Regions from separate parts of the Homo sapiens genome. Here region 2 is linked to region 1. The links are contacts of gene promoters, found by promoter capture Hi-C in blood cells and fetal thymus (Javierre and others, 2016). All regions are on one chromosome and are shown on one strand. Each heading gives the region's core, a stretch centred on a gene start or on the middle of the fragment in contact. The rest is flanking DNA. Distances are from core to core; before and after follow the strand shown.

The links. Contacts are between HindIII fragments. The CHiCAGO score rates a contact against its expected background, and 5 or more counts as called.
Region 2: a fragment that was not itself captured here is called in contact with the fragment with the promoter of CLCN4 in region 1 in 2 of 17 cell types (naive CD8 T cells and non-activated CD4 T cells); the score reaches 6.2 in naive CD8 T cells.

Annotation. Positions count from the first base shown.
Region 1 is chrX:10,151,957-10,158,616 of GRCh38, forward strand. It overlaps CLCN4 (chloride voltage-gated channel 4), which reads left to right and starts at 5,019. Exons shown (of 13, transcript NM_001830.4): 1 at 5,019-5,144; 2 at 6,333-6,595. The HindIII fragment of the contact is 3,563 bases long and covers 4,043-6,660 here.
Region 2 is chrX:11,122,780-11,129,148 of GRCh38, forward strand. It overlaps HCCS (holocytochrome c synthase), which reads left to right. Exons shown (of 7, transcript NM_005333.5): 7 at 1-307. Among named protein-coding and RNA genes, the nearest start is that of HCCS, 15 kb to the left of the region's middle. The HindIII fragment of the contact is 4,762 bases long and covers 2,109-6,369 here.

The sequences.
Region 1 (6,660 bases), core at 3,769-6,268:
TTTCCAGCTCCCCATTCAGTAGTTCGAAGCAAGGCATGGCAGGAGAATTTACACCAGGAGAATCAGCACAAGCTACAAATCAAGCCTCCCTCCCCATGCCCCACCCTTGGAGAGCTGGGTTATTTAACGATGACTGACATGCCACTGTGCATATGCCTACTGGAGGAGACAGGCCTACTGAATTGCCTTGGCAACATCTGAGTCTCCTGGCACTCACAGAGAAAAAGGAGACAGTGGCAGCTCCACAGTTCTTATTGTCAGAGAGGAAAAGCACCATATGGTTTTTTTAAGGGATGGCAACACTTCTCTTAGGCCTTAGAGCTACACGGGCTCTTTTCTCAGGCTTCCCAGCACAGACAATGTCCTTGACAACAACTCCACTCCACTGCAAAAGCAGAGGGATTTCAAAGCTGTTGTTTGTCACGTCAGTCAAGGCTGTCACTTTGGATCGATGTCAGGGCAATGGGGTCTGAGTTTGCAGCTTTTGGATGTCTGCTGAGATCTGTGAACACAGCCCAGAATGCCTAGAAAAGGCTGGATTGCATATTCTTATATCCCATGTCACTTACTTATTCCCCAAATCTTTTAGGATGCTGGCCATGTGCATAGCCCCCAGCTAGGTATGGAAGCAACTCATTCATTCATTCATTCATTCATTGGAGATGGTGTATTCAGGTGTAAAGGAGTTCAGGATACAAAGATAGATGAAATAGGGTCTTCACCTCCAGGTTTTATAAGATCCCCCATTTATAGAATAATTTACCAGATACTCAGGGCTGGAATTTGGAGGAGGTGAGGGAGGCACTTACCTTGGGTGCAAAACGTAAGAGGGCACCACAAAAATCAGTAATCAAGATAATATACTGGCCAGGCACGGTGACTCACGCCTGTAATCCCACCACTTTGGGAGGCTGAGGTGGGTGGATCACCTGAGGTCGGGAGTTTGAGACCAGCCTGGCCAACATGGCAAAACCCCGTCTCTACTAAAAATACAAAAATTAGCCAGGTGTGGTGGTAGGCACCTGTAATCCCAGCTACTCAGGAGGCTGAGGCAGGAGAATTGTTTGAACCTGGGAGATGGAGGTTGCAGTGAGGCAAGATCATGCCACTGCACTCCAGCCTGGGCGACGAGAGCAAAACCCCATCTCAAAAAAAAAAAAAAAAATATATATATATGTATATACACACACACATATATATGTATATATATACACACACACATATATATGTACATATATATGTACATATATAATTTATAAAATCAAAATTAGTGCAGAAAATTACAATGTACAAGATATGAACATTTTAAATAAGGACAGGCTGTTGTGGTTTGTTTCACTCCCCTTCAGTGTTGGGCAAGGGAGCATAGTCAATTCCAATCAGCGAGGGGTTACTTGGCCAGGAGGTATCTGAAGGGGAGGTTTATGTGGGTGCAAATAAATTGGGCCACGGGGAGCATTATACATAGTTTCTGTGCGTGTGTGTTTCGGTTGTAGGGTCTTTACTGACTTTTTTCACTTGGTTCAAAATACAAGAGGGTATCTTGATCACTGTATTTAGGGGTACACAACTTTTCTTGTGTCTCAAATTCTAATAATAAGGCACTGCTTGTGCTCTTTCCAGATCTCTCACTTACGTCTCACTCAGCTACAAGTGGTGGATACTATTACTCTTCCTCCTTCTCCTTGTTTTACAGAAGGGAAAAGTGGGGCTTGCAGAAGCTTGGCAAAATAGCACAGGCAGTAATACTGCAATACAGCCATGTAATACTTCAAGATGGTGTATGATTAAAGCGGTTGGCTGAGAACATTTGGGAAAATTTTAGTTCTGGTGTAACAAACTGTATCCCAGAGACAGTGCTATATGCTGGGCTTTCAAAGAGCAGGTAAATGCAGCTCCCCTCTGTCCTTCCAGGAGCTCAGGAGCTCAGGAGCTCAGGGGTTAATGCGAGTAAATAATTTGGGTCTAAGCTGGTGAGTGCTGTCCAGAGGGTCCCAGGAAGCTGTGGCTCCAAGAAGGGTGGAGGGGATGGTCAGAGGCGCCTGGGGAAGAAGCTGGGGTCCTGGCCAGAGAAGACCTAGCCTGACCCCAGGGTGCTCCAGCCTCCATCAGAACAGGAGGCTGATGTCAGGGCTGTCTCTGAGCCTGTCTGCAAAATGGGTGCACAGCAGATCTGCCCTACTCCTGTTAACCAGCTGCTGCGAGAATCAGATGACATGCTGCAGAGGAAGGCACTCTCTACAGGGTGCATGTGCTGAGGCGGGCGGATCAGTTGAGATCAGGAGTTCGAGACCATCCTGGGCAACATAGTGAAACCCCATCTCTACTAAAAATACAAAAATTAGCCAGGTGTGGTGGTGGGCGCCTGTAATCCCACCTACTCAGGAGACTGAGGCACAAGAAACGCTTGAACCCGGGAGGCGGAGGTTGTAGTGAGTTGAGATTGCACCACTGTAGCCTGGGCGACAAAGCAAGACTGTCTAAAAAAAAAAATATATATATATATATATATATAAAATATATATGTATAATATATAATATATATACAAACACACACACATATATATGGGGGCTTGGACACAAAGAGGCAATAGGGTCCTCACCTCTAGGTTTTGTAAAACCCACCATTTATAGAATAATTGAATAGTGAGTTTTAACAATTTAGTGGTGGGAAAATGTCTGTTTTAAAAATATACAGTGCATCCAAATCTATGAAAATTTCCCATCCACCTCTGTGCCAAGCCACACAGTTTTCCTCCCTAGAGATAACACCCTTAGCAGTTCCCGATGTCTCTTTTCAGAGGTGGTTTGTGGTGCACACACAGGTGGGCAATGACACGTCCCACATGCTGGGAGTACTACCTTTAAGGGATTTATAATGAAGAGAGCTTCCAGCACATCATACAATGGGGAACTCTTGAAAATGGCTGGGAAATGGAACATCTTGGGCATCAAATTATACTCCATCAGTAATTCAAACCAGGGTTTCTCGACTTCAGCACTATTGTACTGATATTTTGGGCCGAAATGTTCATTGTCCCGGGAGGTAGGAGTGGAGAGGGAGCTGTCCTGTGCACTGTAGGATGTTCAGCAGCAGCCCTGGCCTCTACCCACTCAATGCCAGGAGCACACGGCTCCTCCCACTTCAGTTGTGGCTGCCAAAAATGTCCCCTGGGGGAAAGGGAGCAACATCACCCCATTAAGAACCGCTGTTCTAAACCTTGTATGACATCTGTAGAAAACTGGCAGATAAGAGAAAAAATGTAGAAGATTCAAAGGGATAGGAAAGAGAAATCTGTGAAGACAATGGAAAGAGCCTGTAGTCCCAGTTACTTGGGAGGCTGAGGCAGGAGGATTGCTTGAGCCCAGGAATTTGAGGTTGCAGTGAGCCATGATCGTGCCACTGCACTCCAGCCTGGGAGACAGGGTGAGACCCTGTCTCGAATGAACAAAAAACTCAAAGGTTATTATTCCGTAACTATTGAAAGAATCTTTTCATGAAGGATGGTAATAACCAGCTTTCTATCTCCACACAGAGCAAAGTAAAAAGAAGTAGGTTTAAATGGAAGAGAAATTAAAACTGGACATACAGATGGTTAAATATTAACAACGGCCCCTGAATGGCACTTTCTTTCCTAAAGATCTTCATGAGCAGAATAATCTAGGATGGCTAGGGATTGTTCCCTCGGGACTTTGTGGTTAAGAATTCAGGATCTTCAAGTAATGAAATCTGCATTAAAAAATTAGCCAAAACTGTTTGTTTATTCCATAATCATGTCTATATGGTGCTTTTAAGAAAACAATTTTTTTGTTGCTATAAAAGCAATACATATTCACTGTGGAAAAATTAGACGATATCTCTAAGCTTAAAAGAAGAAAAATTTAAAACACCCTTAATCCCACTAACCAGTGAGATACCATGTTTGATACTTTAGTGAATTCATTTCCTAATAGTTTTCTGTGTTCGCAAAGGTATATGTGTAGATATAAATATATTACACCTACATAGAAACGACGGATCACTCAGCACATAATGCTTTGAAGCTTCCATTTTTTTTCCCATTTAATCCGCTGCACATGTCTTTTTCCATCCGTGTGTACCACCGTATTAGTTTTAATTCTTCCACTGCACAGATGGCTTATAATTTAAAACATCCCCTGTTTTTGGAGATTTAACTTGTTTCCAGTGCTTTGAGATCATAAGTAATATTGCAGCAAACTTTCCCTAGTCAGGGGTTTGCACACCGTTCTTCCCCCCACCCCCACTCCCCACACCCCAGGACAAATTCTTGGACATCAAGTTGCTGGAGCACATGATACCAACAGCTGTAGGGCCCGGAGTAATTGGCGAAACTGTGTATCTGTAAGGCATTTGGTAGGAAAAATGCTAAACAGACCACCAGAAAGATTGCTCAACTTACATTCCCATGGGTGGTATTGGTTTTTGCTTTTTTTGGTTTTGTTTTTTAATCTTGGCTAAAATGACAATTTGAAAGGCGAGGGTGGAGGGTGTTCAGACAGCTCTCTCATTCTGTTGAGAATTGCTTGGCCCAGTTCTGGGCCTTGTCTGAATTGCCGGTTTGCTGCAATGTTTTTTACAATTGAGCAATCACCTAGAAAAAAGAGAAGGTGAAACTAACCTACTGCAAAAAAACTGCTCCAGGATGAAGAAGGTTGCCTGTATTTCGTCATTTCAGCCAAGCCGGAATACGGAGCAAGGCTGTCTGCACCGTGCTACCATCCTCTTCAGGCTGCAGGGCATTTTGTATACCCACCACCTCCCATTGATGCTGGAAAATCCGGTCACAGAATTCCGTGCAGCCCAGCCCCTGAGGGTGGGGCGTCCTGTCTCCGGGACGCCGGGTTTTCTCTGGACACGAATGCTCCGGGGGTAGGAGGCGAATGACACTGGCACGGCGGGGCTCCGGAGCCAAGAGGTGACCAGGCTGGCTGGGCAGGGCTGAGTGGCTGGGCCGAGCACGTGATGCTCCCAGCCGGCCTCCGGGGCCCTCCGGGCTGAAATCGACATTTGCCTCTGGCAGGAAAATGAGCTTGTCAGTTTCTGCCTCCATTAGACCCTCAACCCAAAGGAGCAGGAGATTTCGGTAGCGTTTTAACTTTATCTCAGAATCTGAAAGCGGAAGGTAAGCTGCTTATCACTCAGAAAAACAAATTTGAGAGGAGTGACCTAGTAAAGTACACTGCGACTTTGTTGATTTTTAAAATCTGGTGTTGAAAATAATTGATCGCTGTGAGAGTCAAGGGCTGTATTTATCCCCAAATTAGAGATTAACCTTCTGAACAGAAATTTGGTTAATTTGGAGGGAATCACGGTATAAGGGCCAGGGTTAAATATAGAAGGACACGAAAGCTGATGGAATAAACTGCAAGTAAACTTAACTCTAGCCTGCTTGTAAAACAATCTATTTCATGTCTCCTTCAGGGCTGTGAGCAAAGGGAATGTTAAAATTGTGATTTTTAACTCAAGTGAAAGTAAATGAATCTATTTGCAATTGGAATACAAATAAAAGCAGTCTTTGCTTTTGTCCTTTTACATTTCAAAAACGCTTGTGTATTTTGGCAAAAGAAAAGTTTATATGTGCACTGCTTAAGTTTGAAATACGCTATTTCAAATTTACAAAATTATCACAGTTGTAATTTTCTAAAGTCTTTCTAGGCAAGGCTGTTTCAGTTGTGAATGAGAAATGTTGACATTGTACATATTTTCTGTGATAGTAAAATGACTCACTTCTTCAGAATGTGATAAAGATTAGAAAATGTGAAATAATGAGTTATTGTGAATTAAGTCATGTCTCAGAGATTAAATGCCTTGCCAGAAGATGTAAGAAAACAGAGACACAAATACAACCATGCTCACGTAGCAGTGCTTTATTTTAAATCATCACATATTTAAGTAAGTAGTAGAAATACGTGGTGTCACCATTTTTTCCTTTGGCAAATACAAATTAATATTGGAATGCAGCTATTCAGAGTAATTAAAGCATTATTCATCCGTGCAATTAGTATAATGTTCCATAATGAATTGCTTTGAACTAAAGTGTTTGGTATAATACTCGATATACGGCTTGAAACATAGAAACTCTAGGCAAAGTATGTCCATGCTATATTTTGTGTCATTTTGATTTGCACAAAATGTTTATTTCTCCACTGCATTTGATAAATACTAGTTTTAAAATAAAACATGAAATTGTATTTCCTTTCACTGTAATCCCTTTATTGCTAATTCTTTTGAAATCCTATTACTCGCTTGGAGCCTGTAATAATTTGGATTTCTCCTCCTGTGTGTTGTTTTTCATAATTCTTCGCGAAAGGCCAGGCAAGCTGCACACATCAAGCGAAACGCCTGAGGGGCGGCCAGCGCGAGGGTTTCTGGCCATCGACCCTCACCTCCCGGGACTTCCAGGGTCTTCCCCCCACCCCGCGCACACCTCCCTGCCTCGCCCCGAGGGCGTCACGTGGCAGCGTGGGGCCCGCCTCCTGGTGATGTCACGGCGCTCGCAGCCGTCGCGCTGAAGAAAGGATGCTCGAGGATGCTGTCCAGGTGGGCGGCCGCGGGCGCGATGCGGCACTGCAGGTAAGGGGCGCGCGGCGCCTGGATGCCCTCCCCGGCGCCCCCGGCAGCGCGGACGCTGCAGGTGG
Region 2 (6,369 bases), core at 3,240-5,739, 970 kb after region 1:
AGGAAGCTCTAAGTTTGCCATTGAAACTTTTTGTACCAGTAATCCATAAACTGGTTGTTCTATTTATAGCAGCATGTTACAAATGACTGCTTTTTTTTTTTAACTGTCTATACTATTAAATCCTTTAATTTATCCTGAATGCTGTAGTGTTAAATTAGTGGATGAAATTGGCAGTCTGTGGGTGATTAATTTGGTATGGATTTGTCAGTTTTGTGTGGAGTTTAAGAAATAGAACAGCCTTAAACTCTACATTTCAAAATACTTGTATATTTTAAAATAAAGCTGATTAGTTCACAGGTTTTGAAAATTTTTTGGAATAATTTTACACTTAACGATTGTTTCTTCAGACGTATTATCTTTATAAAACCAATGCTTTATGATAGAATGATTTATAACCCAGCACACATATGTTTATTGCAGCACTGTTCACAATAGCAAAGACTTGGAACCAACCCAAATGCCCATCAATGATAGACTAGATAAAGAAAATGTGGCACATATATACTACAGAATACTATGCAGCCACAAAAAAGGATGAGTTCATGTCCTTTGCAGGGACATGGATGAAGCTGGAAACTATAATTCTCAGCAAACTATCACAAGAACAGAAAACCAAACACCGCATGTTCTCAAGAGTGGGGGTTGAACAATGAGAATACATGGACACAGGGAAGGGAACATCACTGGGGCCCGTCTCGGGGCCGGGGGGGGGTGGGGGGGGTTGGGGGGGGTGGGGAGGAGGCTAGTGGAGGGATAGCATTAGGAGAAATACCTAATATAGATGACGGGTTGATGGCTGCAGCAAACCAGCATGGCATGTGTATACCTATGTAACAAAAGTGCACGTTCTGCATATGTACCCCAGAACTTAAAGTATAATAATTTTTTTTTAAAAAAAACAATGCTATAGTCTCCCTACTCCAAGCAGCCACTTTTTCATCTACTAATCTTTTTTTTTTTTTTGAAATGGGAGTCACGCTCTGTCACCCAGACTGAAGTTCAGTGGCACAATCTCAGCTCACTGCAACCTCCACCTCCCGAGTTCAAGCGATTCTCCTGCCTCAGCCTCCCGAGTAGCTGGGATTACAGGTGCATGCCACCACGCCTGGCTAATTTTTGTATTTTTAGTAGAGACGGGGCTTCACCATGTTGGTCAGGCTGGTCTTGAACGCCTGACCTCATGATCCACCCGCCTTGACCTCCCAAAGTGCTGGGATTACAGGCGTGAGCCACCGCACCCAGCCCTAATCACATATTTTTAAACTGTAGAGGAAAATAATTACTGTTGGCATTTTTTGGGGGGGTCTTAAGTGCTATCGAATGAGTGTGGGATAAGACATTCTTATGAAAGACAAAACACTAACTGGAAACAAAAAATATGCCAAAGGCAGGATTCACCTGTTTTATAGGACTGTGGTAAACAAGCTTTAAACTCAAGCAAACTTGATGACAAGATCAAGTTTTATACATCGTTTTACTACTTCCAGAAAAAACCATGGCTTCCTGGATTGTCAGAGCTGCTTTGTGTCTAGATTATGCTTGATTGGGTCCAGGGGTCAATACTGATAGGAGTTTTCGTGTACAGCTTGAAACTCATTTAGGATATTCTCTGGAGTTTTAAACTAAGTCTTGTGTCTGTGGAAATAGCACTATTCAGAATCAGAACAAATTACTGAACATCAGGCTAAGTATTGGCAGACAAGCTGGGGCTACAAATGGATTGCATATTAACATTTAGTATTCCTGTCAGTCACTGGCTAACAAAATGTTTATGTCCCCTTTGTGCATCGTATAAGGAATACAAAATTGCAAAAGGTATAACCCTGATATGGTTTGGCTGTGGCCCCACCCAAATCTCACCTTGAATTTTAATAATCCCCACGTGTCAAGGGCAGGGCAAGGTGGAGATAATTAAATCATGGGGGCAGTTTCCCCTATACTGTTCTCCTGGTAGTGAATAAGTCTCAGGAGATCTGATGGTTCTTTAAATGGGAGTTCCCCGCACAACTTCTTTTGCCTGCTGCCACGTAAGACATCCCTTTGCTCTTCCTTCGCCTTTCACCATGATTGTGAGGCCTCCCCAGCCATGTGGAACTGTGAGTCCATTAAGCTTCTTTCCTTTATAAATTACCCAGTCTTGGGCATGTCCTTATTAGCAGCATGGGAACAGACTAATACCCCTACTTGCAGGGAACTCAACAATCTTATGGACAGTCTATAAATGAAATGGTGGTAAATGCTAGAACTCCAATTTAAGGAACACATTGTGGTAACACACAGTGTGAGAATTCACGTAAGTATTTTTGAATATTTAGAGATAGTTACCAATTTCTTTACTGAGTCATCATTATGGTTTATCTTCTCCCAGAGATTGCTTCTTAGGGAAAATGAAGCAATGCACATTTCCTGTCTCACCTTTGCAGTGACTGTCAGAATTGTATGACCCGTCATTTGTGTCACCATAGGCTTGAGGCTGTGTGTGTGATGATTACAAATGTGTGTCCTGGAGGCAGAGTCCTTGCCCTGCCCTTTAGTCGCTGTGTGATCTTAATGTCTCTGGGCCTCAGCTTTCTCGGCTATGAAATGAGAGTAATAGAACCAACTTATCAGAGTTGTTTTGCAGGTACTTTGAGGTGATGCCTAAAAGCGCTGGGAACAGAGTCTGTGGGTGGAAATGTTCAGCAAATATTAGCTATCACCATTGATCAACAACAGCAAGGAGAGAAATCAAAGTGCTGAGATATAATCTACTTCTCTCATCCTCTGGCCTTATTCCCCGCCCCACTCCGCCACCAGGAGAATCAGTTTAGAGGGGTAACAGCAGGCTCTAATCCCCATTTTGATCAATTTTAAGGATTACCAGGTGTTTGGGTGCTTGCTCTAAGAAAGCTCATGTTATTTAAAATCATCAAATGGAAAAAGAACAGGTTACAGCCTTTGATCTTTCAAAAAATATCAGGGTAACAAATTAGGTACTTGATATGCAAGTCCCACTTGACAAAAAGAAATATTATATTAAGACAGATACCCAAGCTGGAGTGCACTGGCATGATCTCGGCTCAATGCAACCTCTACCTCCTGGGTTCAAGTGATTCTTGTGCCTCAGCCTCCTGAGAAGCTGGGATTACAGGTGCCTACCACCACACTCAGCGAATTTTTTTGTATTTTTAGTAGAGATGGGGTTTCACCATGTTGGTCAGGCTGGTCTTGAACTTCTGACCTCAAGTGATCCACCCACCTCGGCCTCCCAAAGTGCTGCGATTCTTGTGCTTCTTAATCTAAAATATAGCTCACTGTAATGTCCTTTGGGTCACAAGGTTATCCCCCTCTGTGAAAATATATTACATATCCGGATTCAAAACATATTACAAGGTTGTTTACTGCAAAGAAAAAGATCAAAAATTATTTCAAAAGCCATGTATATTCCTTGTAACTTAAGGTAACATTTAAAAAATTATATAATTTGGGGGGTATATAGTATATCAAAATGAAGCATATGAATTATGCCTTGCGCCACTCATGACAAATAATATCACGTTTTCATTTATAAGTGGGAGCTAAATGATAAGAACACAGAGGGGAACAGCACACACTGGGGCCTATTGGAGGGTGGAGGGTGGGAGGAGGGAGTGGCTTAGGAAAAACAGCTAATGGGTACTAGGCTTCATACCTGGGTGACAAAATAATCTGTACAACAAACCCCCATGACACAAGTTTACCTATGTAACAAGTGTGCACATGTGCCTCTGAACTTTAAAAAGAAAAACATTTACTGCTGCAGTAGAGATTGTCACTGTACCTTCAGTAAAATTTCATGCCATTGGTGTAAGTGGTAAAGTGTCTATTTCATGCTTGTGCACTCTCTAGTTTGGAAGAAAAAGCTGACAACACTTTCTGCAAATGATTCAACCGGAGGTTTATACATCACATTGCAAGTATTCTAATGTTTTTGTGGAATCATACCAGATGCAGGAGCAAACATAGTTCCTAAGACTGGTTTAGGGAATGAGGCATGTACATATGGGTGCTATCTTGTATTTATAATTAGCTTTTCATTGATGCTTTTACACACCAAAGGTCATATGTGATAGGGGCACAGAAATAATACATCTTGAGTGTTGTAACAGAGGAATTGTGAGACAAGTCTTCACAATCATAGACGAGTGAAGTCCTAAAGAACAATGAAAAGTTACTATTTTGAAAGTTACTATTTTGGAGCTCTGTGCAGAATCATCATTTAAACACTTTGCTATTCCTTCTACATTTGGGATAACAATGTGACTAATTCCCGTGCCCCTTCAATGGTTTGCTATAGAATATTATCAGGATGCTTTTGGCTTCTAGTAAGTGAATCCCTGCTTGAACTCACAGCCAGAAGTGCAGAGGTTGGGTGTACACTTGGTTGATCCTGCTTCTCTGGACTCCCTTTCCTTCCATGTTCAATTTTAACTTCATCCATGTAGGGCTGGTTCCTTTCATCAGCGTCAATGCTTCCTAGTTGCTTTGAGATCCTTGTTTATGGTCAGTAGATATGAGGTGGGGTGGGACCCGGCCATCTACCACAACCATGGGAAATAAGGTTTCTCTTCAGTCTAATTGGGCCAATTCAGCACTGGGCCTGTGTCCTACCACCCCTCCCATTTTATGTTCCTGTGCGTGCTTCATGCTTAGATTAGCTCAGACAAATCATCAGGAGGACATGTAGTGACCACAAGAGGATTCCTTCACTGCTGATTTAAAATCCCATTCTTAGACATCATTTCATTAAGGTCTTTTTCCTTCATCTGAACCTTTTTAAAAATTTTTTTCTGAGACAGAGCCTCACTGTAGTGCCCAGTCTGGAGTGCAGTGGTGCGATCTTGACTCACTGCAGCCTCTACCTCCCAGGTTCAAGTGATCTTCCCATCTCAGCCTACTTAGTAGCTGGGACCACAGGCACATGCCACCACGCCCAGCTAATTTTTGTATTTTTTGTAGAGACAGCATTTCACCATGTTGCCCAGGCTGGTCTTGAACTCCTGAACTCAAGTGATCTGCCTGCCTCAGCTTCCCAAAGTGCTGAGATTATAGGCTTAGGCCACCAAGCCCAGCCTGAGCCCTTTTCTTATGCCAGGGTTTTAAATCTGGAGGTGGTAGCTAACGTAATGGCATAAAACAAGATTTGAGAGCTTTGTTTCTGCACTGATTCCCTGTGTTAAGCTGGGAGATTTGGGACAAGCCACCTTAGGCCTGTAAGTCTCAATTTCCTGAAATTATCTTAAAGGCTCCTTTCATACCAAAATGTTTGTGGCCTCATATTACAATGGGCTGAATTATGTCATCTTTCAGGTTGAGAATCTTTAAGTTAAGGGAAAACAATGTGGTTTGAAACCCTATTTCAAACTAGTTTTTATATAAACTACATCAGTAGACACACTCTTAAAAGACCTACACTTAAGCGAATTCCAAGTTAACCAGTGCTTTCCTTTCCCTCTATAAAATGTGCTGGCTTGGAAACAATTCAAACATTCACCAATTAGTAAATGGATAAATACATGTTGGTATATCCATGCAATGGAATATTATTCACCCATAAAAATAAATGAAGTACTGATAAATGCTACAATATGGATGAACCCTAAAAACATTGTGCTCAAAGAGGCCAGAAACAAAAGGCCACTTTCGTATGATTCCATTTATTTGAAACCCTCAGAATAGGCAAATTTATAGGGGCAGAAAGCAGATTCGTGGTTGTCAGGGCTGGTGGAGGAGGAATGGGGAGTGACTGCTAATGGACGTGGGAGTTTCTTTTGGGGGTGATTAAAAAATGCTCTAAAATTGATGGTTGCACAACTCTGTGACTATACTAGAAACCATTGAACTGTATACTTTAAATGAGTGAATTGTGTGGTTTGTAATTATAGCTGTTTTTAAAAATGAAAAAGAAATAGCCGGGCGCGGTGGCTCATGCCTGTAATCCCAGCACTTTGGGAGGCTGAGACGGGCGGATCACGAGGTCAGGAGATCGAGACCATCCTGGCTAACACGGTGAAACCCCGTCTCTACTAAAAATACAAAAATTAGCCAGGCATGTTGGCGTGCGCCTGTAGTCCCAGCTACACGGGAGGCTGAGGCAGGAGAATGGTGTGAACCCGGGAGGCGGAGCTTGCAGTGAGTCGAGATCGCGCCACTGCACTCCAGCCTGGGCGACAGAGCGAAACTCCGTCTCAAAAAAAAAAAAAAAAAAAAAAAGAAATAAAAACGTGCTGGTTGATCCCTACAGCCAGGAGGTCCCCATCCTCCTAGTTGAGCAGCCGGCTTAGCATGAGCCAGTAACGTAATTATTTTAATTAACCAAAACAACAGACAATGCAATGTAAATGCATAAGC